Regions from separate parts of the Homo sapiens genome. Here all the other regions are linked to region 3. Evidence: promoter capture Hi-C in 16 types of primary human blood cells and fetal thymus (Javierre and others, 2016). All regions are on one chromosome and are shown on one strand. The core of a region is centred on a gene start or on the middle of the fragment in contact, and the rest is flanking DNA. Distances in the headings are between cores, read along the strand shown. Region 1 overlaps ELF2 (E74 like ETS transcription factor 2). Region 2 overlaps ELF2 (E74 like ETS transcription factor 2). Region 3 holds the start of NAA15 (N-alpha-acetyltransferase 15, NatA auxiliary subunit). Region 4 overlaps SETD7 (SET domain containing 7, histone lysine methyltransferase). Region 5 holds the start of LOC124900188 (small nucleolar RNA ACA64). Region 6 overlaps SETD7 (SET domain containing 7, histone lysine methyltransferase). Region 7 overlaps ELF2 (E74 like ETS transcription factor 2).

Region 1 (3,807 bases), core at 83-2,582, 160 kb after region 3:
ACCACATTCCAGGCTGATTCTGGGGAATGTCTGCAAGGGATCCAGTGATGTTATCTGTCCTCAAGTCTCCCAGCAATGTGTACCAGCACCAGCTCTCATAGGGGTAACAGGGGAATGACATACGTTGTGAGATTCCTTGGTTGTAAATAGCCGTAGTGCGTTGGCTTTCTTAAATGCTGGTTGTAGTATTAATAAACTGGTCATGTGGACAGACTCAGGACATCCTGGTTAGCCAGGGTACTGCAGACAGTGCTGATAACTGGGTCATGCATAAGTTTTCTCCTTCTTGGGTGCAATGTTATTTTACCTGTAGTTGCTGTAGTAAACTGTGTCTGTTGGCCTCCAGCCAGGAGGTGGTGCTTGCAAAAGAGTGCCAGCTGTGGTTGAAGTGGTGGGATATGTGCTTGTCTTATGTTACCCATGGGAGGTATTTTGGTTTATCAGATGATGGGTGAGGCCATAGGGCTCCCCAAAGTTTCTGTCTTTTGTGTTAACCTACCAGGGCAGGTGGAGGGTCAAAGCCAGGTGGGGGGCTTGGTCAGGCAGGCCTGCTCTTTGGCTCTGCATGTGTGGTGTAAGCACAGATCCATGTTGGGCTTTTGGAGCCATTCCCTGGCCACTGGGGTAATGTTCCAGGAAAAAGCTTAGCTGCCTCTGCTTCACAGAAGAGTTCATGCAGGGAGTGGGGAGTAGCAGGTGGGAGTAAGTCTCATCCAGCTCCTACACACTTGGCAAGGCAAGTCTCTCACTCAGAGTGTTCACTAGCAGCAGCTAGCTAAATTCCAAGCTGTTTACATACAGGAACCTCAGCTTTCAGGCCACGCCCCTTTTCATCCACTGGCAATGCCAGAGCACCCAACTTCTGTGTCTGTGGTTACAGCTTACTTCCCAGTCATCCGCCCAGTTCAGCCAAGGCAGTTCATCCCCACTTGAGATTATATTTTGAATTTCAAATTGGGAGCTTCTTTCAACCTGCAACCACTGCCTCAGTTGGTTGGCAGAACTTTGTGAACTCTCCTGTGACACAGAATCAGGAATAGCTTCCCTTGGTTTGCGTTGGAGACCGGGAATACGCACAAGGCTCTTCCCGCCCCTGGTGCTTCTTGTATATTCTCCACTGCTCCCTATATTAGTTTTAGCACTGGGTGGGGTTAAGGCCTTCCTCTGTGGGCCGGATTTCTAGTTTTCATAGTGGGGGTGTATACTCTGGAGGTAATCTCTCTCCCTCTCACACTCTGGGGACTTACAGTTTTTTACCTGGCTCATGGTGTAGACTGCAGCCTGCCCCTTCTTTCAAAGGATCTGTGGTTTCCGTTTTTCCATTAAGTTCCTGCATTGCTTCTTTGAAAAAAGTTCACAGTTTGAGTCTTTACCCACTATTTTTTCTTTCCAAGTGGAAGAGGCATGCCAATACTACCTCCAATCTGCCATCTTGAGGAGGGTGGGAATTTTTTTTTTAATTAAAATTTAAATTTTTGTAGGCTGATTTTGTGGCAAGGATCAGGCTAAGGTGTATTTAAGGTCTTCTCAGGTCTTTTCTGAGCCTGGGCATGTGTGGTCACTTTCCACATTTTTTCATATATATAGTTTTTGAATGTTCTAGTCTTTATTTTAGTTTATTTTTTATTTTGAGGCAGAGTCTTGCTCTGTTGCCCGGGCTGGATTGCAGTGGCTCGATCTTGGCTCACTGCAACCTCCGCCTCCCGAGCTCGAGCTCCTGCCTCAGCCTCCCGAGTAACTGGGATTACAGGCGCCTGCCACCACGCTGGGCTATTTTTTGTATTTTTAGTAGAGACGGGGTTTCACTGTGTTGGCCAGGCTGGCCTTGAACTCCTAACCTCAAGTGATCTTGGCCCACCTTGGCCTCCCAAAGTGCAGGGATTACAGATGTGAGCCACTGTGCCCAGCCAAATGTCCTGGTCTTTAATGTGTGGCTCTCAAAAGGGGAAAAAGAGTAAAATGGGGTTTGCTGGCCTTTTAAGTCCCCTAGAAGTGACTTCAGCCAGAGGGGGAGAAGCTTGCAACAGTGAAGGGAGGCATAACAATAATATCTACTCATTTCTTTGTGTGCTCCTCTGTGATCAGAAGCAATAATCAGTGATCAGAGCACAGATCTCTGATATTTGGAAAATAGTCCTTTTTGCTTACCATGGCCCTCACAAGTTGCATGCAGACTGTTCCAGGAACACATGCACAGCTGTCTACCCTCGAGTTGGGGGATGGGTGGTAGCTGATACTGTGCTGAGAGCTAGAATGACCGAAATTAACCACAGTTTATTGTTCAAGCCTTCCCTTGGAGGTTGTAAGCCTTTAGCCAGGGTTCCAAAATAGTTACATTAGGTAGATTCTGCCAGTGCAATTGTCTAGATAGGGATACAGATTCCTGGTGCATCCTACTCCATCATCTGAGAATCCTCCAGCCTGGATTCATTCTTGACTTCTTTCTTTCTCTCATAGCAGTCAATCCACATCAATTTTGCTTGCAAATGTCATCCTTTTATCTGCAAAATACATCTAAAGATTGATCACTTTTTTTTTTTTTTGAGACAAGGTCTCACTCTGTCGCCCAAACTGGAGTGCAGTAGAGAGATCTTGGATCACTGCAGCTTCAACCTGCCCAGCGTCCCGAGTAGCTGGGACAAAGGGGTGTGCCATCATGCTTGGCTATGATCACTTTTTCACTACCTCCAGAACTACCACTCTGGTCCCAGCCTGTATCACTTCTCATCTCATTATGGGTTTGTGCAAAAGTAGTTTGCATTACATTAAAAGTAATGGCAAAACTGCAATTACTTTTGCACAACATATATTATTGCAGCCTGCTAACTGACCCCCGTTTCTGCTGTTGTCCCCTTGTCTGTTCTCAACCCAGCATCTGAATGATCCTTATAATAATCAGATCATCTTTTTGTGTAAAACCTTTCTTCTCTCTGAAGTCAAAGTCCTTACAGGGGACCTACTTGGCTCCCTTCCCTTACCTTTCTGTCCTCTTCTTCAACTATTCTTTCTTCCTCTTGCTCACTTCACTTCAGCTGTATTGGGTCCCCTTGCCGGTCCTTTAACTAGTCAGGCATACATCCTCTTGAGGGTGTTGAATTTCTTTTGACTAGAAGGCTCTTGTGCCAGGCATTGCCACAACTCACTTCTACTTTTGGGTTTTTACTCATATGTCACTTTTTTAGTGAGTCCTTATCTGACCACTCAATCTGAATTGGCAGCTCTCCCTGCCAAATAATCCCTATCTCTTTGGTTAATTTAACTCCTTAGCCTTCATCACCATCTACAGGTATGGTGTACTATTTTATTTTTTTCTCTCTCCTCTGCAGTGTAAGATCCATAAAAACAGGGACTTTGCCTTTATTCACTACTGGACCCGGGCACCTAAAATTGTGCTATCATATAATAGTGCTCATTTAGTGTTTGTGTGATTGAATTAATGAATGGAGTGCTTGGGTTATCCTGGCATCAGTGCTTAGTATTTATGTATACCTTATCTAATTTCAATGAAGTAGAGGCAATAAAACATCTAGTAGACAAATCTGGAAGAGAGAGTTGAGTGAAGCTGTAGGAGTAGATTTCATAGCTTAGAAAGAGTGTAAAGAATCTGAAGAGAAAAGGACTAGGGATGGGATCCTGGAAACACCCGCCTGTAAGGGTTGACCAGAGAGCAGCACTGTCCTAAGACTTCACCAACTGGCAACAAAAGACCTGTGCTTTAAAGGTCCTCATATGGCCTTCCTCCAGCAGCTACAACCCTACCCATAGAGTGAAGACTTTGTGGGGGGCCAAGGTGACTAGACTAGTCTA
Region 2 (3,752 bases), core at 955-3,454, 180 kb after region 3:
CCTGCCTTGGCCTCCCAAAGTTTTGGGATTACAGGTGTGAGCCGCTGAACCTGGTCTGAATTTTTTTTTTTTTTTTTTTGAGACCGAGTCTCATTCTGTCAGCCAGGCTGGAATGCAGTGGTGTGATCCTGTCTCACTGCAACCTTTGCCTCCCGGGTTCAAGCAATTCTCATGCCTCAGCCTCCCAAGTAGCTGGGATTACAGGCGCATGCAACCATGCCTGGCTAATTTTCGTATTTTTAGTAGGGATGGGGTTTTACTGTATTGGCCAGGTTGGTCTCGAACACCTGACCTCAGGTGATCTGCCCACCTCAGCCTCCAAAAGTGCTGGGATTACAGGCATGAACCCTGAATTTTTTAATGCAAAATGATTTTAGCTTTTTTATGGTCAAAGAGAAGGAATCACTGAAATATTAAAACCCGGCTGGGCGCTGTTTCCAGAGGTGCTATTGTTTTGACTTATGTATTATAATTTCTTTACTTTTCTTTATAGTTTTGCCACCTATGAAAATAGTCCTAAACAATATTTTATTTTGAAAAAATAGTTTACCAAGCTAATTGAGTTAGGAAAGGGCAATATTATCATAGATAGATGAAGGCTTCCAGGAGAAGATAGCTGAATAGTCAGGTTCACTGAGTGTCATGAGCTTGTCTTCAAGTAGTCAGTGAGCAATGCCATGAGTTTTTAGAAATGTAAGGCACATCCTGCTCTGGTATCTGGCAGTGCTACAGTATGGTATGGGCTGGGTATTGCATATTTGTTCAGGAGGTATATGGTCACATGAAGAACGCTGTTCTGTATCTTTTATTTTAAGCCCATGGTAATCTTCCTCCAACACATAGTAGATCAAAGCAGAACACATCTGGGGGGTGAAATGTGTTCTTAGCTGATCCAGGCAGCAGGGCAGGTGGAGTGAGTAGGTACATGAAGGTAAGCCAAATGTCAATAAAAATCTAGAACAGACTGATCTGGACATTCTGTCCTTAGGAACAAGGTCAATGGTTATCGTAGTAATGACAGTTCATCATGCTATCTCAGGAGTCACACTGCTATATTTTGGACTGGTTGCCCTTTAAATCTGGTGCATAGCTAGCATCGTGGAATCTCTCTTCACAGTCTTCCTGAAGATTCCCATTGTTTCTCTCCTATGTTGATCTCTTCTATCCTGTATTTGCAATAGTTCTCTTTTTTAAAAAATTCACTCTCTCTTATTGATGGGATACATTCTCCAGTATCTTCTTGAGAAAGGAAACATGAAAGGTAAATGTTTGAGATCTTTCATGTCTGAGAAGATACCTTTATTCTACTTCTATAAGATGATTTGACTGGGTGAAGAATCCTAGATTGGAAGTAATTTTTCTTCATAATTTTGAAGAAATTGCTCAACTGTCATCTTCCTTCTAGTATGACTGTTGAGAAGACTGAAGTCTGTGTCCTGATTCTTTGTAGTAACCTGTGTTTTCTTTCTAGAAGCTTGTAGAATCTTTTCTGTTCCCAATATTATGATATTTCACAGTGATATGCCTCAATGTATGTGTTCCTTAATTTTTTGTACTAGACACTTGGTGGGTCCTTTCAAATGGGTGGCTTATATCCTTCAGTCTTAGAAAATTTTATTGATTTACTTCTTTCTTGTTGATTTCTTTCCAAACCTTTTTTTTTTTTCCTTTCTATTTCTTGTTTTTTCCTTATGATTTATTTTTTTGGAACTCTGTTATTCAGATAGTGGACCTCCTGGACTGGTTGGTCATCTAATATTGCCATCTTTTCTCTCCTGTTTTCTATTGCTTTATCTTTTTTCCTCTGGTTCCTGGAGATTGCCTCAATTTTATCTTCCAAGCCTGTATTCATTTCAGCTATTGTATCTTTAATTTCCAAAAATTCTTTTACTTGTATTTTAAAATGTTCTTTACTGAATTGTGATCTGTTCTTACTTTATAATATCTTCTCTGTGTGTGGAATATGAATATTTGGCTTTTTGTTCATGACTAAAAGTGATGGACTAAAAAGCTAGTTGGACACTCCATTTTGGGTAGAGTATGATGCTAACAACTGTGCCTATTATGCCTCAAAGATGCTATTGTTGTTCCTCTCTGGAAAGTAACCTGTCTTCTGCTGAGGTGGAGGAGGTCTGGTTGCTTAGCATCATGAAGGAGAGAGAAGGTCTAGGAATCAAAAGTGCATGTAATTGGTGTTGCTTTCTGTAGATTCTCTACACTGTACAGTGTGTTGTTTCTCAGATTTTTTTTTTTTTTTTTTTTTTGCTGCCAGACTGATTTGGCTTTGCTGGGTCTGCTAACCCACTCCATACTCATCCAGACACTTTCAGTCTTCCAGGATTTTGTTGTTCTTACCTCTTCTTGTTTGTTGCTCTCACCTCTTGTCCTTGTGGGTTTAGGTATAAAAGAGTCTTTTACTGTTGTTTTAGTCAGCTTTCATAATTAAGTGAAATTATATGCATGTTTTTAATCTGCCAACTTAATCCTAAAGCACAGATTATTTAAAATGTTTAATCTATGTCTTACCTCTTGAGACTTGAAAGGATTATTAAAGTTAGCCCTTTTCATCTCTTGTTTTGGCTTTTACATTCATATTTATAATATTTGAAACTCATTATGTGGACTGCTCGAGACTGTATTAGTTCAAGGATTTATAAGTGAATTCAGAATTTGTAAATACAAAGGTTGATTGTTCTTTAAATTTGCTCTTATAGGAAAGTGAAAAGGTTTCTGAATATCCAGCAGTGATTGTGGAGCCAGTTCCAAGTGCCAGATTAGAGCAGGGCTATGCAGCCCAGGTTCTGGTTTATGATGATGAGACTTATATGATGCAAGATGTGGCAGAAGAACAAGAAGTTGAGACCGAGAATGTGGAAACAGGTAGACATCTCATAAAATGTTCATTATTTATAACTTTCTCATTTTGTAAGCTTCAACAATACTATTGCCAGATGAAAAATATACTGAAAAACCTTTTTAATGCTATTTAGTATAGCTTGGAAACCAGTGAAACATCTATGTTTAAGGGAATTTGTGTAGATATAAAACTTCTATTGTATAATTCTATGAGGTGTAACAGTCTCATATCATGGACTCTATGCACAAAATTACAGCTTCACATAATGATAAAGTTATTTTATTATTTTTTTTCTGAGAGTATAAATCCTAGCTGTTATTTATACAAGTCAATAGGCTAGTATTATGAGGACAGCTTTTTAAATTAAAAAAAATGGTATTCTATCATTGTCTAATTGATTATGAGTTTCTTTGAGTTAATATTGATGGAGCAATAAGATTTCTTTTCATTAATATCAGAAGCATCATTGTAGTGTTCTATCAGTTTCCTCTTTGCTTTTTGTCGTCTTAGAGATCTTAGTATTTCAGTCTATTTCTGGTGAGATAGCTATATGTTTAATTGGAGATTAGTATCTATAATTCTTAGAGAAATCTTTTAGTTTTTGCCATTGATTATGAAGAAAATAGAGTATTTTATCAGAAGGATTGTAGTGACTCTTACATAATAATAAACATGCAAATGTATCATCTTTAGCTGTTAATGGAGAAAAAGAATCATTATACTTGTTGTTTAATCCTAGTAAAAATTCTTTACTATTTTGATACATTTTTATAAATGTAGGAAACTTTCATGATTAAAATTTTGAGTATGTGATGTATTTCTTCTTATGAGGTCCAGTAGTACCCCTTAGGGCTACTAGCCTCTTCCAGCATAAAACTGTTCTTCCTCTAATTTT
Region 3 (4,197 bases), core at 620-3,119:
TTTTTTTCAAAATAAAGAATTGTGAAAAAGAGATTAAAGATAAATTGCTATTCTAAACTTATGTTACAGTTCTACCTGCACACCAATTAGTCTTTTTAAGGGTTTAAAAGTAACTTTTTTCCTAAAACTATTTTACAGCTCCACCTACACTCTTAGTCTTAAAACAAAACAAAATTCCAGTAAGAATTTCAAGGTAACAGTTTTGCGACACTGCATGTGACTTTCTAATGTTTTTCAAAATGAATTCACTAAATCTGTAGGGCATATGGACACTTTTGTAAAATCAAAGTTAGTTCAAATGGATGATTATTCATTTCTAGAAAAACTGAATCCCCAGAGTTGTTCTACTTTTCAAACAGGTGAAATAAATTATAACTGCGGGGGAAAAGGCTAACACTTTCACACACACATCCCAAATTTTAAAAGTCTTAAATTTGGCAAATACAGTTAATTCTATCATAAGGAAACGTTTGCGTGAAAGGGGGAACCCACATACTAAATGCCAAACAAAAAATGTGCTACAATGTGTTAATTATAGCTCCAAGGCTACAGGACATATTTTACAATGTAAACAGTCCCTGCAAACATCAATGCATTTATGGTTTAAAAAAATACAAACTGCACACATTTGAACCGTAGGGAATAAGTCTGAGCTAGCGTCAACAAAATCCATCTCAAAAGTTCTTATATTCTCATTTCTCTGGTAAGTTTTTGCATGTGTTAATATACTTCAGTGTATAAGAAAAGTCTAGGTCTGCAACGTTTCAACTAAAGACTCAACTTTTTACTTCCTACCGAACCGCCCCCTCGCAATGGGCCCCACCTCCCGAGAAGAGTGACGGGGTGGGGCTGTTTCCCGCTCGGAAACTAAGAAATAAATGCCTCATCCCTACTCCAGAAACGAGAACAACGGAGGCAGAGGAGCTGAAGACTCCAGTATGCAACTGACTACAAGGAGGTAGTCGTTTGAAAAGCTTTCTTTCCTTCTCTGAACTCCTTCTTTCCCTCCTCTCAGGTCATTGGGTGACCCCGGGCCGGGCGGAGACAGGTGAATCCCAAGAGAGGAGGAAGAGGGAGGGACAGATGATGGAGGGAGAACCGCGTTTAGGCAATGAATGAGCCTGCTGCATCCGCACCACCTGTTCCTTCCAAGGGTGCCACCCCGACCTGCCAGCAGGGTTCCCACACCAACCGGGCCGCGACTCCTGCCGGTGTCGCCCACTTGCCCGCCAAAGGCCGGGCCTCTTCTCCCCCAGATCGGGGAGAATGAGAACCGGCAGTCTAGAAGCCGGGAGGTCGGGGCCTAGTCCGGAACCAGGGCCTCAAGCGTGGGGATGGAATGAAGAAGCCTGTGGTCCCTGGCGCGCGGGCCATAGTAGGAACCACAGAGAGGGAGCAAAGCAATGCATTCGGCCTGACGAGAGCTATGAAGGCGGGGTCCCGGGCGGGAGTGGCTCAGTGCCCGCCGGGCCGAGGTTAGGGGTGACAGGCCCGGTTACCGGCTAAATCCTCCCCACCGCTTGCCCGGAGCCTCACACTTACCAAGATCCGCTTGAAGAGCGCATTCTCCTTGGGCGGGAGGCTCACGGCCGGCATCGTTCCGGCTGCTCCCGCTGCTCCCGCCACCACCCGGCTCGGTCAGTCAGTTTGTCCGACCGCCGCCGCTGCCGTTCCGTAGCTGCTTCAGCCTTGAATATCTCGATCCGCCGCCACCACCAGGCCTCGGGTGTCGCCGCGTTGCCCTACCCGGACACCTCCTTTTTCCTCGTTGTCTTTTTTCCTTTCTCACTTAACGCTGCCGCCGCCTCCCCCACTACGGGTCTCCGTCGGCGGTTCACGTGGTAACTGAACAGACCGACAGAGGCAGCCAAAATGGCGGACGCGGAGGGTTTTCCCACCCGGGTCACGCTTCCTAACACGCAGGCGCGGTGACCTCCTTTCCCCACCTCCTCTGGGTTTCGGAGCTTGCCGGGAAACCTGGAGGCTGGCCTGCCTGTGGAGGCCGGGAGGGTCGGGGCAGGCCCCGCCCATCATTTCAGTGCGTGGTACCCTCGAAGCGCCCGCGGAGCTACGGGAGGCTAGGCAAGTACGGTTCAGACCGCCTCCTCATCAAAAACAGCCTCTCTGGCGCCTTCCTGCTAGATCGACCTTTCATTCCTTGGAAAGAGTCTCGCACACTGTGTGATCATCGTTTGAGCCCAAAGTGCTAAAATACAGGTGTAGGTGTTTGAGAAGCGCTGTAGTTGATTATGGACGAAATGCCTAATTTAAGGAGCAGAGGCGGAGTGGAAAATGAAAAAAGCTTCACCGCAGTGGAGACTTGTTAACAGCCCTGGGGAGAAAGGGGCTTAACAGAGTCTGGAAATCGTGAAAGAGCTTGACCGATGAAATGGGCCTGGCTGTCGTATCGGTAATTTGGTGAATGTTGCTTAAGATCAGCCTGGAAAGGTAGTTAGTCAGATCCGAAGTGACATATTTGCACTGCCAAAGGAGGCTCTGGAGGTTAAAGTATGTGTTTTAATTTCGTTGTTGAGGCCATATAATGCAGAGTTGACGGACCGACCTTATGAGTCACCTTGGAGCGGAGTAGTGGAGACTTAAAGACAGACTACCCTGGAGCTGGCTTCAAACTAGTTCTTAATATTGTGACTCGAACTCCCCATCCCCAGAAATTCTCAGATCTTAGAAGCCAAAGACTGGCAAGGATACTAGAGGGAACTACTCGAGTAGGCGAGGTCAGACTACATACCGAATAGGAGTCCTTCCAAAAATGTAAGTCATTTCATTAACAGCTGACCGTAAAACTTTTTCAAAGTGGCATTCCATTGATCTAAAAATTTTCAAGTTATATGAGCCACTTTTAACCTTTGGTTTTTGATTACCTCTTTCCAAATCCTGATTTCACTCTGTAGCATTCTTTGCATCATGAATTATTAAACAATATGTGCGTGTTTTTTACTGTTTTAAATTTATTTGCAAAGATATTTTAATTTTCAAACTTCTCTTAACTGTCCCTGAAAGGTGTGAGTTGAGATACATGTTTCCCAATATAAACTTGGGTTTTGTAGCTGCTATATTGATTGTCCTCGCCCTTCACCGGGGTCATAAATAAGGTTTTTAACAGTCAAATCCTGGAGTTTCCTTAAATTCTGTGATCTCTCTTCAAAAGTTTGAGAAAAATCATATATACAGGAAACTATGTTTCAGTTTGAAATATGGCCAGTATTTTAACCTTAACTTTATAAAACTAAGAACAAGCTTATAATTCATTTTTAAGCTGTTACTTAGTAATAACCTGCAAAATTCACTGCCCCAAGAGATCTTTCAACTGTCTGAACTATTGAAAGACAGAAAAAATAGTCTAAATGCAGTTGATAGTTTTAGCTTGGATTTCCAAATCTCTGGCTTCATATCCAAATTTCTGGCTTCATATCCAAAAATCCCTACAGCAATACTATTTGCTATAGTTCTCTAAATTTCTCCTGTAAAGAATATTCTATTTTCCTTCAGAGGAAGAAAATTTCTGGTCTTTGAAACAATCAGTAGCTTCCACCAGAACCTGAGTACCTGATTAGATGAGCCAGAAATAGAGTTTGGCAAATGTTACATTCTTTTTGGGTGATGACAAAGAAATGGCAATTTTAAAGGCTCGGCAAATACTAGTCTGATTCAACATTTAACTGATTCATTTGCTAGTTAAAATGCACCTACAGATAACAGTCTGACCACACAGTAGCCTGAATTGAATAAAAAAATATATATTTACTCTGATCACCACAATTTCACAAATAGAGATCCCATTTGAGTTATACTGTAAGTAACAGCCATGCTTTCAGAAAGTTAACATATCCAAGGCTATATGCTGCCGCTGCTGCTGCTGATGATAGTTAATTCATCTTACCCCATGTGCTTGCATGTCACTATGTTCCAAATGCTAACTCTAAAAAATATTAACCAAAAAGAAAGAAATAAAATCATTTACCTTGCAAACTTTAATTCTACAAAAGGGATATGTTGAGTGAAATTTCTCCATATATGTAAGATGTTCTCTATTGAGACTGTTACATCTTATTAAGTACTTGGATCTTATTTAAAAAAAAAAAAAAGGCTGGGCTTGGTGGCTCACACCTGTAATCCCAGCACTTTGGGAGGCTGAGGCGGGCGGATCACAAGGTCAGGAGTTCAAGACCAGCCTGA
Region 4 (4,216 bases), core at 323-2,822, 240 kb before region 3:
GGGAAACTTTTCCTGCCCCATTTCCACTGCAATTTTTTTATAGCTCTTTTTTCTGAAAAGTGTCACTTTTAACCTTATTCTGCAAATTTTTTTATTCGTTCAACAAGTACATATTTATGTAAATGTCTCCTTCATCTCCAAGGACAGAGGTTTCCTTGAGGGCAGAATCTGTGTCTATTACATCTTTTATGCTTCATAGCACTTTCTCTTAATTTGATACTAAAAAGAAGTCCTTGCTAAGTGAGAGTGGGAGCTGAAAGAGAGGGTAGAATTCACCCAGAACACCCCCTCCGCCTCCCCCTCCACACACAAACACACACACACACACACACACACACACACACTTTAAATCTGGTAGTTTGATGATGATAGCCAGTAACTGATTGACTCTGGGAAAACAGTCCAGCAGATTTGTTTGAATTTGGTGTTGGTTACCTGCTTGCTTTATGGGGCTGATACACAGAGTACTGATGGGCTAGACTAAAATTCTGAACCAGTGTGCCGAGAATGAGCTACTTGTTAGCTTCAAGATGCTGATCCCCTCAGCCCTAGGGTAAGATAGCAAAGTGGGGCCTGAGACTTCCTGGGCACCTGTCTTCTCATATCCAGCTAGTAACTTCTAGCCCCAAACAGCTTCATCCGCTTACCCCAGTGTGTCAGACAAATGCATTAATTTGCAGGTGTGTCACGATATGAACAAGCTGAAGCACCAGGCCAAGTGGCAGCACTAGCCCAGTAACTATCTATAGGCTAGAAATACATTCATTGATTTTTTTTTTCCTTTTGAGGCACGAATTCACCATTCTTTTTATTTTATTTTATTTTATTTTATTTTATTTTATTTTATTTTAGATGGGTTCTCACTCCGTTGCCCAGGCTGGAGTGCAGTGCCATGATCACAGCTCACTGCAGCTTCAACCTCCCTGGACTCGGGTGATCCTCCCACCTCAGCTTCCTGAGTAGCTGTGACTACAGGTGCATGCCACCACACCAGGCTAATTTGTTTTGTATTTTTTATAGAGATGGAGTTTTGCCATGTTGCCCAGGCTGGTCTCAAACTCCTGAGCTCAAGTGATCCACCCGCCTCAGCCTCTCAAGTGCTGGGGTTACAGGCGTGAGCCATTGTGCCCAGCCTAACCAATTCACTAATTTTTGTTTGTTTGTTTGTTTGTTTGTTTGAGATGGAGTCTTGCTCTGTCTCCCAGGCTGGAGTGCAGCGGCGCGATCTCGGCTCACTGCAAGCTCCGCCTCCTGGGTTCACACCATTCTCCTGCCTCAGCCTCCTGAGTAGCTGGGACTACAGGCGCCCACCACCACGCCCGGCTAATTTTTTTTTTTTTTTTGTATTTTTTTAGTAGAGACGGGGTTTCACCTTGTTAGCCAGGATGGTCTTGATCTCCTGACCTCGTGATCCGCCCGCCTTGGCCTTCCAAAGTGCTGGGATTACGGGTGTGAGCCACTACGCCCACCCAATTCACTAATTTTTATATCTACCACTCAAACACCAGTGGAGATGTTGATTAAATAGAATCAAGGAAAAATAGTGTTAGCGAGGACCTCAAGAGATTATCTTGGTTATCTTCAGATAGACGGGAGTTAATATCTTAAGGGGAAAATGTCAGTATCATTGGTTTTATTACACATGATGGAACAGTGTGGTGACAGGATCTCAAAAGGTCGTCCTCATCTTCTTAAACCCAAATACTGATCATGTTACGAGACATCTGCTAAAAGGATTTGCTGTAAAAATTAGTAAGAGAGTCTTACAACTGAATAAAAGGTCGAGAATCTACCAGGGTTTTCTAAGGCAGATGTGGGATTTGATTATGGATAAGTCAGTTGTTTCTACATGAAGCAGTTTTTATTTATATTTGTCTATTACTTTTTCTCCCTGTTCCCATCCCCGGCTTTTAGAGCTTGATGTGTTGGGTAAAATTAAGTGGGAATGCTTTGCCTTTATTGTCAGTCATCAACCTTTGGTCTGGAAAAATTCCTTAAGAAAGGCTGGCATTAGGTTTTGAATAACAAGCGAGGAGACAAAAACTTTGTATTGAAGAAAGTTGTTGAAACCTGTTATGCTGATTTGTGTCCCCATCAAAGAGTTTGTCTGAAATTGTGGGAACCCATGTTCCGACAAGGAAAGAGACAAGGAAAATCACAGTGTAGTAATGGAAGACTTGGCCTAAATATTCTAATTTTATATGAAAACTGAACCCCAGAATATGATTTATGAGAAGTATCCAAACAAATATAAACATATCAAGAAAATTATAGAATCAGTGTTTCCCTTGACATCGAATGAGATAAATCTGAATAAGAATTTCAAATATCCAGATAACTAGGAAAAATAGCCCTGTGAAATTTTAAAACCAAATTTGTAAATAGAAGCAGAATATTTTATTTTATTTTTAAATTGCAAACATAACAAATGCTTAGTGGAATAAAACAAAACTTCAAGAAATTCAGAAATGTGAAAGTGCTCCCCCCCGCTTTTTTTTAACCCCAACCCATGCCATAGAAGTAATTACTATTGGCAGAGAATTTGCACATCTTAACTAAACATATTCAAGGTAAAATATAGAAATAGGCATTTTTAAAGTTTTATTTTAATTGACACATAATTCTACATTTTTCTGGGGTAAAGTGTGATTTTGATACATAAACACATTGTGTAATGATCAATCAGGGTAATTAGCATATCCATCACCTCAAAGATTCATCATTTCTTTCTGGTGAGAACATTCAAAATCCCTTCTTCTAGCTATTTTGAAGTATACAATATATTACTGTTGACTGTAGTCACCCTGTTATGTAATAGAACACCAGAACTTATTCTTGCTATCTAACTGTAACTTTGTACCTGTTGACCAACCTCTCCCCATCCTTCCCTCCTGCCTTCTACTCCCCAGCCTCTGTTAACCACTGTTCTGTTCTCTACTTCTGTAAGATCAGCTTTTTCAGATTCCCCACATACAAATGAGATCATGCGGTATTTGTCCTTTTGTGCTTGGCTTATTTCACTTTACATGATGTCCTCTAGGATCATTCATATTGTCACAAATGACAGGATTTCGTTTTGTTTTTATGCTGAATAGTATACCATTGTGTACGTATATACCACATTTTCTTTATTCATTCATCTGTTAATGGAAACTTGGGTTGATTTCATATCTTGGCTGTTGTGAATAGTGCAATAAACATGGGAGTGCACATACCTCTTCAGCATATGGAAGAAATAGCTATCTATTTCTAAATCAGTTTAAATAGCAAAAATGTACATTGTTTACCTGTTCACAACTGTCTCAGATTCAAAATGTTTGCTAGTTTTGAGATCATAATATTTAGTCTTTTCTTCATTATATGACAAAATGTGGAAGAGAAAAGCTAAGTTACTACAACCAGCTTATTAAGTCAGAAACCTAAAATCAGAATACTCATGCTTTACCAGATGGTTTGCCCTACAAATAAGGAATGAATGAGAACATAACCTTATTTTAAAAATTGTTTTTAAAGTAGATATTGTGTCCATTCCCGCCTCCTCTATTAAAAGGGAAGAAGAAATTATCCTGAGATTCAGTAACTGGGACTTCTTTACATCCACTCGGTCCCGAGATAAAGGAATTGATGCAGCGTGGTGACAGGAATCTTGAGGCTTTGTTGGTGTGGATCTGGAGTCTGTCTGGTACCCGTGGATTTGCTGGAGTACCATGGGGTGTGATGAAAACGTGTAGTGTTCAAAATACTTTGATACACACATCTCTAATTTTTATACTAATCCTAGATTCTGGATGTTTATTTTCATGTATCTTTCTTTAATTGTTCTATTTTGACCATGATTTATGAACCTAAAGGCAAGACTTTTCACAATCCTAGAATGGTGAACAAGAAGGAGATATTTCTTCAGATTGGCTTTGCGGGGGCTATGGAATATTAGGGTCATGTGGTTTTTAGCCTAATTATGAGGTGGAGATGAGGTCATTCATTCAGCTTTATTTGTTTATATTGTTGATGCCTCTCCTTCACATGCCAATTTGATTTTAAAGGATTTACTACTCCACGGCTTCTTTCTCCTGTGCCCAAGTCCTTTTCTGATGTTGCTTGGCTACATTTGCCAAAAGGGCTCCGTGTAATTTATCACTGGCCAAATAACCTGAGCAAGGTCACCCGTCTGATGAGCCACTGAGAAAGGATGGCATTCTCCAGGTGTCAAGTCTAT
Region 5 (4,084 bases), core at 719-3,218, 130 kb before region 3:
AAGACAGATAAGAAATGAGGAACCAAAAAAAGCTGCAATATATATAGAAAATAGCAAAATGACAGAATTCCCTCATCAGTAATTATTTTAAATGTAAATGGGTTAAACTTCAGTGAAAAGACAGAGATTAGAAGAATGGGTTTTAAAAAACCATGATTCAAGACTCCTGTGCCACATAACATTTCAGTCAATGATGGAATGCACATAGGATGGTAATACAATGGTAAGATTATAATAACGTATTTTTACTATATATTTTCTATGTTTAGATATACAAACACCATTGGGTTATAGTTACCTACAGTATTTAGTATGGTAACATGCCGTAACAGCTTTGTAGCCTAGGAGCAATAGGCTATACCATACCATCTAGGTTTGTGTAAGTACCTTCTGTGATATTTACATGATGATGAAATTGCATAACAATGCATTTCTAAGAACATATACCCATACATAAATGATACATGACTGTATATGCTGTCTGTAAGAGACTTAAGATCCAAAGACAAAAACAGGTTAAAAGTGAAAGAATGGGAAAGGATATTCCATGAAACTAATTACCAAATATTAAGGATGGCGATACTAGTATACAACAAAATACACTTCAAAGCAAAAAAGATTACTAAAGACAAAGAAGGACATTATATACTAAAAAACGGTTCAGGATGAGCACGTTGGCTCAGGCATGTAATCGCAGCACTTTGGGAGACCAAGGTATGAGGGTGCCTTGAGACCAGGAGTTGGAGACAGCCTGGGCAACACAGTGAAACGCTGTCTCTACAGAAAATTAAAAAATTAGCTGAGCATGGTAGCATGTGCCTGTAGTCTCAGCTACTCAGGAGGCTGAGGCAGAAGGATAGCTTGAGCCAAAGCACTGGAGGCTGCAGTGAGCTATGATCACACCACTGCACTTCAGCCTGGGCGACAGAGCATGATCCTGTCTTAAAAAAATAAAAAACATAAAAGGTTCAATACAGCAAGAAGGTTTAACAGTTGTAAACATGTATGCTCCTAATGACAAACCATCAACATATATGAAACAAAAATTGACGTAATTGAAGGGAGAAGTACAATTCTACATTAATAGTTGGAGACTTTAATATCCCAATCTCAGTAGTGGATAGAACCATCAAAATCTAAGCAAGGAAATATAGGACTTTCACAACACAATAAACCAACTAGATCTAACAACCATATACAGAACACTCTACCCAACAATGAAATACACATTCTTCTCAAGTATACATAGGATAAATTCCAAGATAGGTCATAAATTAAGTCTGAATTGATTTTAAAAGACAGCAAAATATCTTCCCTGACCACAATGGGATGAACTTAGAAATCAAAAACAAAAAGAAAACTGGAAAATTTAAAAATCATAGAAATTAACACACTCTTAACCATTAGATCAAAAAAGAAACCACCCGGCATTGGTTGAAAATCACCCCCCGGCTTTGGCCATGGCAGCGGGTGAGATTCGGCGCCCAGAGCCTCCAGGGGCCTCAGCTCACCGCACGCTGACACATGTGCGGCGGTGAAACCCAGCCCCAACAGGCCCCGCGGCCTCTCCCTGGGTGCGGCCGCTCGCGTGGTCTGGCTCCTGACCCAGGCTGCCGACCCCTAACCCTGTTTTCTCTCCACAGGACACTGGTCTTCCCACACGTGAGACCGATGTCGCCAGGACCACGGGGTCGGGGGGACTCGGCTGTCCTCCGTCTTTCAAATAAAGCTGTTTGTCTAAAAAAAAAAAAAAAAAAAGAAACCACAAGACAAATAATAAAATACTTATAAAGACAAGTGAAAATGAAAACACAGCATACCAAAACTTATGAGACACAACAAAAGCAGTGCCAAGGGGGAAGTTTCTAGCTATAAATTCTTACATTAAAAAATAAGAGTCTGGTCTGAAGAAAGCAAAATTAAAAATTATTTAAAAAATAAGAAAAATATCAAATCACCAACCGGACTTTCCAATTTAAGGAACTGAAAAGGAAGAGCAAACTAAACCCAGAGCTAGCAGTAGAAAGGAAGTAGTAAAGATTAGAATAGATATAAATGAAATAGAGACTAGAAAAATAATATAGAAAAATCAAAATGAAACCAAAAGTTGGTTATTCAAAAATCAAAAAACTTTGCAAATCTCTAGCTAGATCTACTTATAACAAAGGAGACAAGTCAGAAATGAAAATGAAGACATTACTACCATTTCTACAGAAATGAAAAGAGTTATAGGGGAATACTGTCAGCAATTGTCTGCCAAGAAATTGGATAACCCAAGTGAAATGGAGAAATTCCTAGAAACACTAAACCTACCAGGCTAAACCATGAAGAAATAAAAAATATGAGTAGATTTGTAACTACTAAAGAGATTCAATCAGTAATCAAACATCTCCTGTCAAAGAAAAGCCCTAAACCTGATGGCTTCACTGATTAATTCTACCAAGCATTTAAAGAAGAACTGTATCAATCATTTCAGACTTCCCAAAAATTGAAGATGAGGGCATACCCTTAACACGTTCTATGAGGCCAGCATTAACCTAATACCAAAGCCAGTAAAGGTACTACAGGAAAACTACAGACCAGTATCCCTTATGAAGACTGATGCAAAAATCCTCAGAAAGGTACTTGCAAACAGAATTCAGCAGTATAGTTAAAGGATTATACAGTTTAAGTCATCACTTAATGTTGATAGGTACTTGGAAACTGTGACTTTAAGCAAATGATACATCAGGAAGCCAGTTTTGCCATAGGCTTGCCAGGCACACTGCCTCACACCTGTAATCCCAGCACTTTGGGAGGCTGAGATGGGAGGTTCACTTGAGCTCAGGAGTTCAAGACCAGCCTGGGCAATAGAGTGAGCCTCGTCTCTACCAAAAACAAAAAAAAAAGCCTGTAGTCCTAGCTACTTGGGAGGCTGAGGTGGAAGGATCACTTGAATCCGGGAGGTAGAGATTACGGTGAGCTGAGGTTGAGCCATTGTGCTCTAGCCTAGCCAACAGAGGAAGACTCTGTCTCAAAAAAAAAAAAAAAGGCTAATTTATATAAACAAGAATTAAGTTCCTACAGATGTTTTATAAACATCATCAAAGTTCTAAAGAAAGACCCAAAACATCTCCAGTTTTAAACATTGAAATAAATGCAAGCTACATGTACATTTAAAAAAAGATTAATAGAAACAAGTAAAATATTTACCTAATCTCTGGCAAATCTATGAGTGACAAGTGGTTGTAGTAATGGTGAGTTAAATCAAAGAGTAAATGCTTGCAAAGAGAAAATTGTAAAGAGCACACAGTTCATAAACAATAACAGGTCATGCCTATAATCCCAGTACTTTTGGGAGGCTGAGGCCAGAGGATCCCTTAAGCCCAGGACATTGAGACCAGCTTGGGCAACATAGTAAGACATCATCTCTACAAAAAAATTAAAAACACAAATGAGCTGAGCACGATGGTGCACACATGTAGTCCCAGCTACTCAGGAGGCTGCGGTGGGAGAACCACTTGAGTCCCAGAGGTCAAGGCTGCAGTGAGCCATTTTTGTGTCACTGCACTCCAACCGGGGTGCGAGTCTGTCTAAAAAAACAACAACAACAACAACAAAATGGAGGAGGCAGAGCAAGACAGCTAAATAGAAGCCTCCACCAATTGTGGAGGTGTCTCCTGACAGGGACACCAAATTTAACCACTATCTATATTAAAAAGCACCTTCATAAGAACCAAAAATCAGGTGAGCACTCATAGTACCTGGTTTTAACTTCATATGACTGAAAGAGACACTGAGGAGGGTAGGAAAGACAGTCTTAAATTGCTAACACCTCCCCTTCCCCAGCCCCCAGCAGTGGCCACGTGGCACACAGAGAGACTCTACAGTTGAAGGAGGGAGATCGCAGTGATTGTGGGACTGTGTTGGAATTTAGTGCTCCCATGTTGCAGTTGAGAGCAACACTGGGCAGAACTCAGCCAGCATCCTCAGAGGGAGCATTTAGACCAGCCCTAGCCAGAGGGAATTTGCCCATCCCAGAGGTCAGAACATGAGTTTCAGCAAGCTTTGCCACCATGGGCTAACATGCCCTACAGTCCTAAAT
Region 6 (4,203 bases), core at 1,626-4,125, 220 kb before region 3:
TCATTACCAAATGTGGATATTAGCACCTACCATAAAACACTGTAATGAAAGTTGTTATTACATTCTTCTTGCTATAAATAAGAAACAGTAGGCCAGGGCTGGTGGCTCACAGCTGTAATCCTAGCACTTTGGGAGGCTAAGCCAGGTGGATCACTTGAGCCCAGAAGTTCAAGATCAGCCTAGGCAGCATGGTAAGATCCTGTCTCTCCTAAAAAATACAAAAAAAAAAAAAAAAAATTAGCTGGGCATAGTGGCATGTGTCTGTAATCTCAGCTACTTGGGAGACTGAGGTGGGAGGATCACGTGAGCTCAGGAAGTCAGGGCTGCAGTGAGCTGAGTGCACTGCACTCCAGTCTGGGCGACAGGAGTGAGACCCTGTCTTTAAAAAAAAAAAAAAAATTGTTGAGAGTGAGAATTCTAAAGGGAATTATTATTTTTTTAGAATTTCTGGTTGCTTTAGCTGGGTGTGGTAGAGTGTGCCTACAGTCCCAGCTACTCAGGAGGCTGAGGCACAAGAACCGCTTGAACCTGGGAAGTGGAGGTTGCAGTGAGCCAAGATAGCACCACTGCATTCCAGCCTGGGTGACACAGAGACTCTGTCTCAAAACAAACAAACAAACAAACAAAAACAAACAACAACAACAAAAACCTTCTGGTTGCAAATAAACATTCACTTCAAATTAACTTAACGCAGAAAAGAAAGGGGGGATTTATTGGCAAGATTCCTGCAGACCTCAGGTGTTTTGAAATGTTGAATAGTTTGAGCCTCAAAAGGGCCAGGAACCATGGCTGCTCTGGCACTCTGAAGATCCTATAGACCGATCTTTAGTCTAATGTTCTGCCATGTTTGTATCTCTCCTCTGCCCCTTCCAGTTATAATTATTGACCTGCTGACTGGCCAGTGGGTTAGGGGGTACAGGGTCCTGTGACTGTAGCGTCCAATGGTTGGGGAAGGAGAGAAATTAATGCAAATATCTCACATAAAACACTCCTTGACCTGTCGCCTCACCAGCTTCTCCATTTCTCTGTGTGCTTTTGTAACCACAAACTACTTCTAATTCTCTACTTACTTCCTGTGGAGTTTCTCACCTATGCCACTGCTTCTCACCTGATCAGCCCTACTCCACATAGTAACTGCTTTCCTTGGCTAATTCCTACTCCATCTTTAAGGCTTAACTCACTTTTTATAATGAATGTTTGTCCATTGAATAAATGAATTCTAGTCAAAGGGCATAGCATACTATAGAGGAAAGGAGGGAAAGTAAAGGATGTGTAAAATCTGTAAAAGTAAAGGATGTGCCTGCAGCCTGGGCATGTCTAAGGCAGCAGAAGAAGAGACAGTAGGCATTGGAAGAGATAGTGTGCACTCCCTGAAAGCAGCAACAGAAGTTAATCCTTATTGTATCTACACAGTCCCTAGTGTTGTACATGTAGCTGGCACTCAGTAAATTTGTCATAAAAATTTTAGTCTAAGGAGCTAGATGGAATTCATAGGAAAATTTCCACTCAATAGAACATACATTCCACACACAATTTTGGTTATTTATAAAAAGTGACGGCTGGGCACAGCAGCTCACGCCTGTAATACCCGCACTTTGGGAGGCTGAGCCAGGTGGATCACTAGAGGTCAGGAGTTCAAGACCAGCCTGGCCAACAGGGCGAAACCCCATCTCTACTGAAAATACAAAAATTAGCCAGGCATGGTGACAGGCACCTGTAATCCCAGCTGCTTGGGAGGCTGAGGCAGGAGAATCGCTTGAACCCGGGAGGCAGAGGTTGCAGTGAGCTGAGATCACGCCATTGCTCTCCAGCCTGAGTGACAGAGCAAGACTGTCTCAAAAGAAAAAAAAAGTGGGGGAGGGTGGTTTAAATGCTTTTCGTGGATTGCTTGGTGGTCTGTTACCACTTTGCTCTCAGATCCAATCCATTCATCATTCTTTCACTGCCCGCTATTATTGCAAGAGGCTGCTGCCCCTTGCAGCCTGCATTTTTCAGGCTCCTGTGTGTCTGACTTCTGTCTGAGTTTGGCCAAAGGGAGGCCACTGGCTGGCTGGGGACAAAGCAGGAGAAGGCAGCAGGAAGAAGCCCTCTCTGTGTCAACCAGCATCTCCAGCAGTGGCCCCATCACCTCCTGATTCCATCTCCCATGAGGAAGGCCCAGGCTAGTTCCAACTACCCCAGCTCCAGAGCTCCAGGAGCAGCACTGTGCCCTCTGTCCCTCCGGCCTCCAGTGGCAGCTTCCTGCTCTTGCCAGTGTCTGGGCTCTTCACGGCTCCATCTGGCTTGTCAGCATTCCATCCCCTGTATGACCAATTCCCTGAACTGAATTCTTTTTGAAACACTCAAATGGTCCGTTTCTGTGCGGACACTGACTGATTTGGATTGGTTTCTGACTTTTAGTTTCAGGTATTCATTGGGGTTTTGGTTGTACAAAAAAAGCCACTCACAAACAAACAGAAAGAGGACCTAGTAACCATTAGTAACTACTGAAGAATTGCTTAATGGGATTATGAGTTTTCCCTCAGTGTATATAATCATTTGTTTTGCAGGAGTAAGCCCTCTGATTCTAAATCTTGTTTCTTTACCTATCAGTCTTCAGAGCATCTATCTTTAGTGCTGTCTGTGAGGATTCTCTAAAGCTAATCCTTCACAGAGAGCCAGTGTTCCTTCTAGGGTGGTTGTGTGCCTTGATTTCTAGAGTAAATTACTAATTGGCTTCTGAACTACCGTAATAGAAAGGAGATTACTTTGTTAATGCTTTATCAAAAGCAGTGCTGTTCTCCTTAATTCTGGTGAGGCAGAATTTTATTCTTAGTGAAGGAGACAACTGCCAGTGTTCAGTTGTTGGATTCTGTAGACTGTATCTGTAATGAAGAAAACCACCAGAAAAATTTAAAACCATCATCCAATTTGATCTGAGCCAAGAGATCTCAGAATTTCATGACAAAGCATTTTATTGATTCCCAAGCATCCTTTAAGTCATTTTAATAAGGAAAATTCAAGAGTGAATTGGAATGTTAAGAGATGCATCTGATGGCTGTTCATGAAGGCCTGAAAATAAAACTGAAGCGTAAATCTAAAATGTATCCATTTAAATTGAAGAACTTCATTCTAGTTGGTATAACTTGATTAAGATTTTTGGTTTTTTAACTCTTCGTTGTCCCATGAATAGAGAGAAGTGTTATAAATGCTCTTCCCTAACTCTGCACCTATACTGGTATTTTTGTTTGCTTTTCAGATTCAGTGTACCACTTTGATAAGTCGACTTCATCTTGCATTTCTACCAATGCTCTTCTTCCAGATCCTTATGAATCAGAAAGGTAATTTCCTCCTTGGGGTTTTAATTGCACTGTTTATGTGAGGTTAAATAAGCCTAGTGGTAGGAACTTATGCACCTCTTTGGCTCTCTGCCCAGGCTGGGTTCCAGCTCAGACCAAGCTCCTCATGAAAGTGTCCTTTTCCTTTGCCAACCCTCAAATAAATATTTCTATATTCTGAGGAAGAGTGTTTTTATTCTTATGTAGAATCTGACCCTGTAAGAGAGTTTCCTCACCCATAAATCACAGAACAGCTTGTGTGTCTGTCCTAGAGTAAAACCTCCAGGTAGAAAGAGCAGTTGAGGCCAGGCATGGTGGCTCATGCCTGCAGTCCCAGCATTTTGGGAGGCCAAGGCGGGCGGATCACTTGAGGTCAGGAGTTCAAGACCAGCCTGGCCAACATGGTGAAACCCCATCTCTACTAAAAATACAAAAATTAGCTGGGTGTCATGGCGTATACCTGTAATCCCAGCTACTCGGGAGGCTGAGGCACAAGAATTGCTTCAACCTGGGAGGCAGAGGTTACAGTGAGCCGAGATCATGCCACTGCACTCCAGCCTGAGCAACAGAGCAAGACTCCATCTAAAAAGAAAAAAAAAAAAAAAAAAAAAAAAAGAGCAGCTGGGCCAGGCAGCCAGCTGTGTCCTGGCCGAGCATTCCCGTTCTTAGGGTCTGTGCTGCAGTCACATGCTGGCCCTCTAGGGGAACATTTCATGCTCTTTAAAGCTCTAGCCTGTGCACACAGGATGCCTCCATTTCATCTTAGACCAGCGGAGGTGTTCTGGAACACAAGACAATTTCTTTTTTCACAAACAGAAGACAAGAGTGAAACAAAGAAAGTATAAGAGGCATAAAAACATTCTAGCTTATAAATGACAAGTTTCTG
Region 7 (3,947 bases), core at 223-2,722, 200 kb after region 3:
CCCAGGGTGGTCTCAAACTCCTGGCCTCAAGTGATCCTCCCACATTGGCCTCCCAAAGTGCTGAGATTACAGGCATGAGCCACAGTGCCTGGCCAGGATCATTTTTTGACAATCATTATCCCTAGAGTGTTGGAAATGACAGCACAGAAAGGGAGTTTCTGCCATTGTTAAAATTCAGTTAACTCTGTAGTTTCTTACTATATTATACCCATCATAAAAAATTGTTTTGGGGAGTAAAAGGATGGTAAAGTCCTTTCAGGTGTATGAAATAGTGTAACACATCATTACTATTCATCATTAAGCATTCATTGAGCACCTAGTAAATGCAAGGCATTATTTTAAGGCACGGGGCTACAATGTAGACAAGAAAGGCAAAGTCTCTACATTTATGGTACTTAGAATCTAGTGGACAAAACATGTAAGTTTGCACTACAGTAAAATTACTTTGTCACAAATCAAATTATATAACTTGAAATTGTTCTTTAAAGTAAATATATGGAATTAAGCTAAAATAATAAACTCATGAATTATTCTTTTCAAGCAGTTAAAGCAGTGGATAGTTTTTTTCCTCTCCCTTTCCATATGACAGTTATTAGGTACAATTGAGATAGTTAATTGGTAATCTTAACATTTATCATGTACACATTACCTATATTACTGCCATGGCTCCTAGAAAGTGAACAATTCGTTGTTGAATAACACATGCTTTCTAGCCTCAAAGAAGCTTACTAAGTTGCGAAAAATGAGCATTCAGGCAAATAATAGTATTATAGAGTAGATAGGGTTGGGGAAAGGTGAGGGAAAGAATTGCCAAGTATGGTAGTGAATTCAAATGTTCCAGATTACATTATTGCTATTGTGGTAGGTCCCATTTAAATGTCATCATGAGAGTTGACAGTGAAGGCCTCTGGTTAGAGGCAGAGGAACAAGTCAAATGGAATTAAGTATTCCTAAATCTCATTATTTTTAATTTTTTATGTGTGTAACAATACCATAAAAAATCAGAAAGATTTTCCTGTCCTCATTGATGGAAAAATCAGGGAACAATGCTAAGAACTCAGCCTGTTTGCAGTAATTGGTTATGATTTGGGAGTGGAATTAGGAGGTGAAGTAGGACTAACTATGACTTTTTAAATTTTTTACATTCCTATATTTTTTCTTTTCTTTTCTTTTTTTTTTTTTTTTTTTGAGACAGAGTCTCACTGTGTCTTCCAGGCTGGGGTGCAGTGGCACGATCTCAGCTCACGGCAACCTCGCCTTTCGGGCTCAAGTTATTCTCCTGCCTCAGCCTCCTGAGTAGCTGGGACTACAGGTGGGCACCACCACGCCTGGCTAATTTTTGTGTTTTTAATAGAGACAGGGTTTCACCATGTTGACCAGGGTGGTCTCGAACTCCTGACCTCAAGTGATCTGCCCACCTCGGCCTCCCAAAATGCTGGGATTACAGGCATGAGCCACCGTGCCCAGCCAACATTCCTGTATATTTTTTTCATTGAGTATATCAAGAGACAAATGTAGCTTTATAGCCTTTATTTTCATTAGAATAACAGTTTTTTGTTGTTGTTTGTTTTTGTTTTTAAATGAAAGAAGTCCTATGCTGTTTTCTCCTGGTTTAAAGTCAGTGTTTGGTCATAATTGGGTGTTTGATTTCTTTTCACTTTGTAAATATGCCAAAATATATACACTACTTGAAGGGAATGAGCAATTACTTTTTTTATTTAACTAAAATACTTTTCATATGTTTTATATTAAACTGGGTGGTGATAATATGCAATTATTTTTCAGGACTTAAGAATATCTTTAAACAATTATTTGTTAGTGAGTAGAAAAGCAAACTCTTTGTCTCACTATGCTCTCAACAGTTAACACAGAAGACCTCTGGGACATCTGATTACCATGAAGTGTGTGGGATTTCTCCCGACCAATAAACTAGTCAGTCAGTTCTGTAGTGGACACCAGCTGGGTGTCCTCTAATTCAATTCAGTTCTGACACTGTCTACTTGGAGATAGCATCAGATCCTCTGAGAAACACATTTACCAGTTTATCATAAAGGATATTTAAAGGATACAGATGAAGAAATGCATAGGGCGTGAAGTATTGGGGAAGGGTCATGGAGGTCCCATGCCCTTGCTGGGCATGCCACACTCCAGGAACCTCCACATGTTCAGCTATCAGGAAAGTCTCTGAACTCATTCGTTTTGGGTTTTTATGGAAGCTTGATTAAGTAGGCATGATTGATTAAGTCATTGGCTATTGGTGGTTGACTTAACCTTCAGCCCTGTTTCCCGAGGCCCAGAGGTTGGGAGTGGGGCTGAAAGTCCCAACCCTATAATCCTGCCTTGGTCTTTCTGGTGACTAGCCCCCATCCTGAAGATACCTAGGGGCTGCCAGCCATTACTCAATCTTTAGCACACAAAAGAACACTTACTACTTTGGAGATTCCAAGGATTTTAGGACTTGTATGCCAGGAAATGGGGAGCAAGACTAAATATATATATTTCACACATATTTCACAATATCACAGCTAGAACTTGGGAGATTTTCTTATCAGTAGATGAACTTGCAAAAGATCATGAGAAAGTTTTACATCAAAAAGAAAAGGTTAGCCTGGGCAATATGGCAAAACCCCATCTGTACAAAAAATACAAAAATTAGTCGGGCATAGTGGCAGGTGCCTGAAGTCCCAGCCACTTGGAGGCTGAGGTGGGCAGATTGCTTGCACTTGGTAGGTCAAGGCTGCAGTGAGCTGTGATCCTGACACTGCATTCTGACAGAGCGAGACCCTGTCTCAGGGGGGAAAAAAAAAAACATTTATGTCTCCGATCTAGTTAGCAAAAAGATACTTCTTTTTTTTGGAGATGGAGTCTTGCTCTGTCGCCCAGGCTGGAGTGCAGTGGCATGATCTCAGCTCACTGCAACCTCCGCCTCCTGGGTTCAAGCAATTCTGCTGCCTCAGCCTCCCGAGTAGCTGGGATTACAGGTGCCCGCCACCACGCCTGGCTAATTTTTTTATTTTTAGTAGAGATGGGGTTTCACCATCTCGGCCAGGCTGGTCTAAAACTCCTGACCTCAGATGATCCGCTTGCCTCAGCCTCCCAAAGTGCTGGGAATTCTGGCGTGAGCCAGCATGCCCGGCCGATACTTCCTTTTTTTTTTGAGACGGAGTCTCCCTCTGTCTCCCAGGCTGGAGTGCAGTGGTGCTATCTCCGCTCACTGCAACCTCCGCCTCCTGGGTTCAAACAATTCTCCTGCCTCAGCCTCCCGAGTAGCTGGGACTACAGGCGCCCGCCACCACCCACCACGCCCGGCTAATTTTTTGTATTTTTTTTTTTTTTTTCGTAGAGACCGGGTTTCACTGTGTTAGCCAGGATGGTCTCGATGTCTTGACCTCGTGATCCACCCACCTCGGCCTCCCAAAGTGCTGGGATGACAGGCGTGAGCCACTGCGCCCGGCCCTGATACTTCTTATATATGGTGTTTGACAAGTCTTTCAGGAAAATCTGAATTTTTTTCCCCATATGACCTTTTTTCTGATGTGTAATAGTTGGAAAATAAAGGCAGGATTTAGAATAATTACTGAGAATGAAAAACTTCTTTTGAAGAGGAAACCAAGAACTTGGTTCAAGAGGAGAAAGAAATTAAAAGGTGGTAATTTCTTTTTGAGACATTTACTTTCTTGAATAAACTTGACATCCCCCCCTTTTTTTTTTTTATCTTTTTCTTTAGGGACATTGGTCTATAGTTAGTATCTAGGTTTACAACATTAAGCTTTTTTCATTTTGTTTGGAAAAACAAGGCTGGCAGAATTACATTTGTTTTTAATTCCATTGCTAATATTACATACTTAGGAGGCTATCAGGTGCAAGTTATTTACTTGAGACAAGAAGCACTGATTATTTTGGCTAGGCTTCATCTGAAGGCCTATGTTCTGGGAAGGGAGGCCTCC

Evidence for each region. The method cuts DNA at HindIII sites, captures the fragments that hold promoters and counts their contacts. A CHiCAGO score of 5 or more calls a contact.
Region 1: a fragment that was not itself captured here is called in contact with the fragment with the promoter of NAA15 in region 3 in 2 of 17 cell types (monocytes and total CD4 T cells); the score reaches 7.8 in monocytes.
Region 2: a fragment that was not itself captured here is called in contact with the fragment with the promoter of NAA15 in region 3 in 6 of 17 cell types (naive CD4 T cells, total CD4 T cells, monocytes and 3 more); the score reaches 6.7 in naive CD4 T cells.
Region 4: a contact is called between a fragment that was not itself captured here and the fragment with the promoter of NAA15 in region 3, in 1 of 17 cell types (total CD4 T cells). The highest score is 5.4, in total CD4 T cells.
Region 5: a contact is called between a fragment that was not itself captured here and the fragment with the promoter of NAA15 in region 3, in 1 of 17 cell types (total CD4 T cells). The highest score is 5.8, in total CD4 T cells.
Region 6: a fragment that was not itself captured here is called in contact with the fragment with the promoter of NAA15 in region 3 in 4 of 17 cell types (non-activated CD4 T cells, total CD4 T cells, naive CD4 T cells and 1 more); the score reaches 5.4 in non-activated CD4 T cells.
Region 7: a contact is called between a fragment that was not itself captured here and the fragment with the promoter of NAA15 in region 3, in 17 of 17 cell types (total CD4 T cells, total CD8 T cells, naive CD4 T cells and 14 more). The highest score is 31.7, in total CD4 T cells.

What each region holds. Positions count from the first base shown.
Region 1 is chr4:139,141,603-139,145,409 of GRCh38, reverse strand. All of the region lies in intron 1 of ELF2 (E74 like ETS transcription factor 2), which reads left to right. Among named protein-coding and RNA genes, the nearest start is that of ELF2, 34 kb to the left of the region's middle. The HindIII fragment of the contact is 1,374 bases long and covers 646-2,019 here.
Region 2 is chr4:139,124,292-139,128,043 of GRCh38, reverse strand. ELF2 (E74 like ETS transcription factor 2) reads left to right here. Exons shown (of 10, transcript NM_001331036.3): 4 at 2,715-2,880. Among named protein-coding and RNA genes, the nearest start is that of ELF2, 51 kb to the left of the region's middle. The HindIII fragment of the contact is 1,456 bases long and covers 1,477-2,932 here.
Region 3 is chr4:139,299,177-139,303,373 of GRCh38, reverse strand. NAA15 (N-alpha-acetyltransferase 15, NatA auxiliary subunit) reads right to left here and starts at 1,869. Exons shown (of 20, transcript NM_057175.5): 1 at 1,543-1,869. The coding sequence starts at 1,596. It overlaps NDUFC1 (NADH:ubiquinone oxidoreductase subunit C1), which reads left to right and starts at 897. Exons shown (of 6, transcript NM_001184989.2): 1 at 897-958. RefSeq lists enhancers at 1,819-1,878, 2,359-2,478. The HindIII fragment of the contact is 1,328 bases long and covers 977-2,304 here.
Region 4 is chr4:139,540,926-139,545,141 of GRCh38, reverse strand. All of the region lies in intron 2 of SETD7 (SET domain containing 7, histone lysine methyltransferase), which reads left to right. Among named protein-coding and RNA genes, the nearest start is that of SETD7, 13 kb to the left of the region's middle. The HindIII fragment of the contact is 7,497 bases long and covers 1-4,216 here.
Region 5 is chr4:139,433,840-139,437,923 of GRCh38, reverse strand. LOC124900188 (small nucleolar RNA ACA64) reads left to right here and starts at 1,430; the gene lies at 1,430-1,556. The HindIII fragment of the contact is 4,158 bases long and covers 1-4,047 here.
Region 6 is chr4:139,522,471-139,526,673 of GRCh38, reverse strand. SETD7 (SET domain containing 7, histone lysine methyltransferase) reads left to right here. Exons shown (of 8, transcript NM_030648.4): 5 at 3,239-3,320. Among named protein-coding and RNA genes, the nearest start is that of SETD7, 32 kb to the left of the region's middle. The HindIII fragment of the contact is 8,290 bases long and covers 1-4,203 here.
Region 7 is chr4:139,101,750-139,105,696 of GRCh38, reverse strand. All of the region lies in intron 4 of ELF2 (E74 like ETS transcription factor 2), which reads left to right. Among named protein-coding and RNA genes, the nearest start is that of ELF2, 73 kb to the left of the region's middle. The HindIII fragment of the contact is 1,492 bases long and covers 727-2,218 here.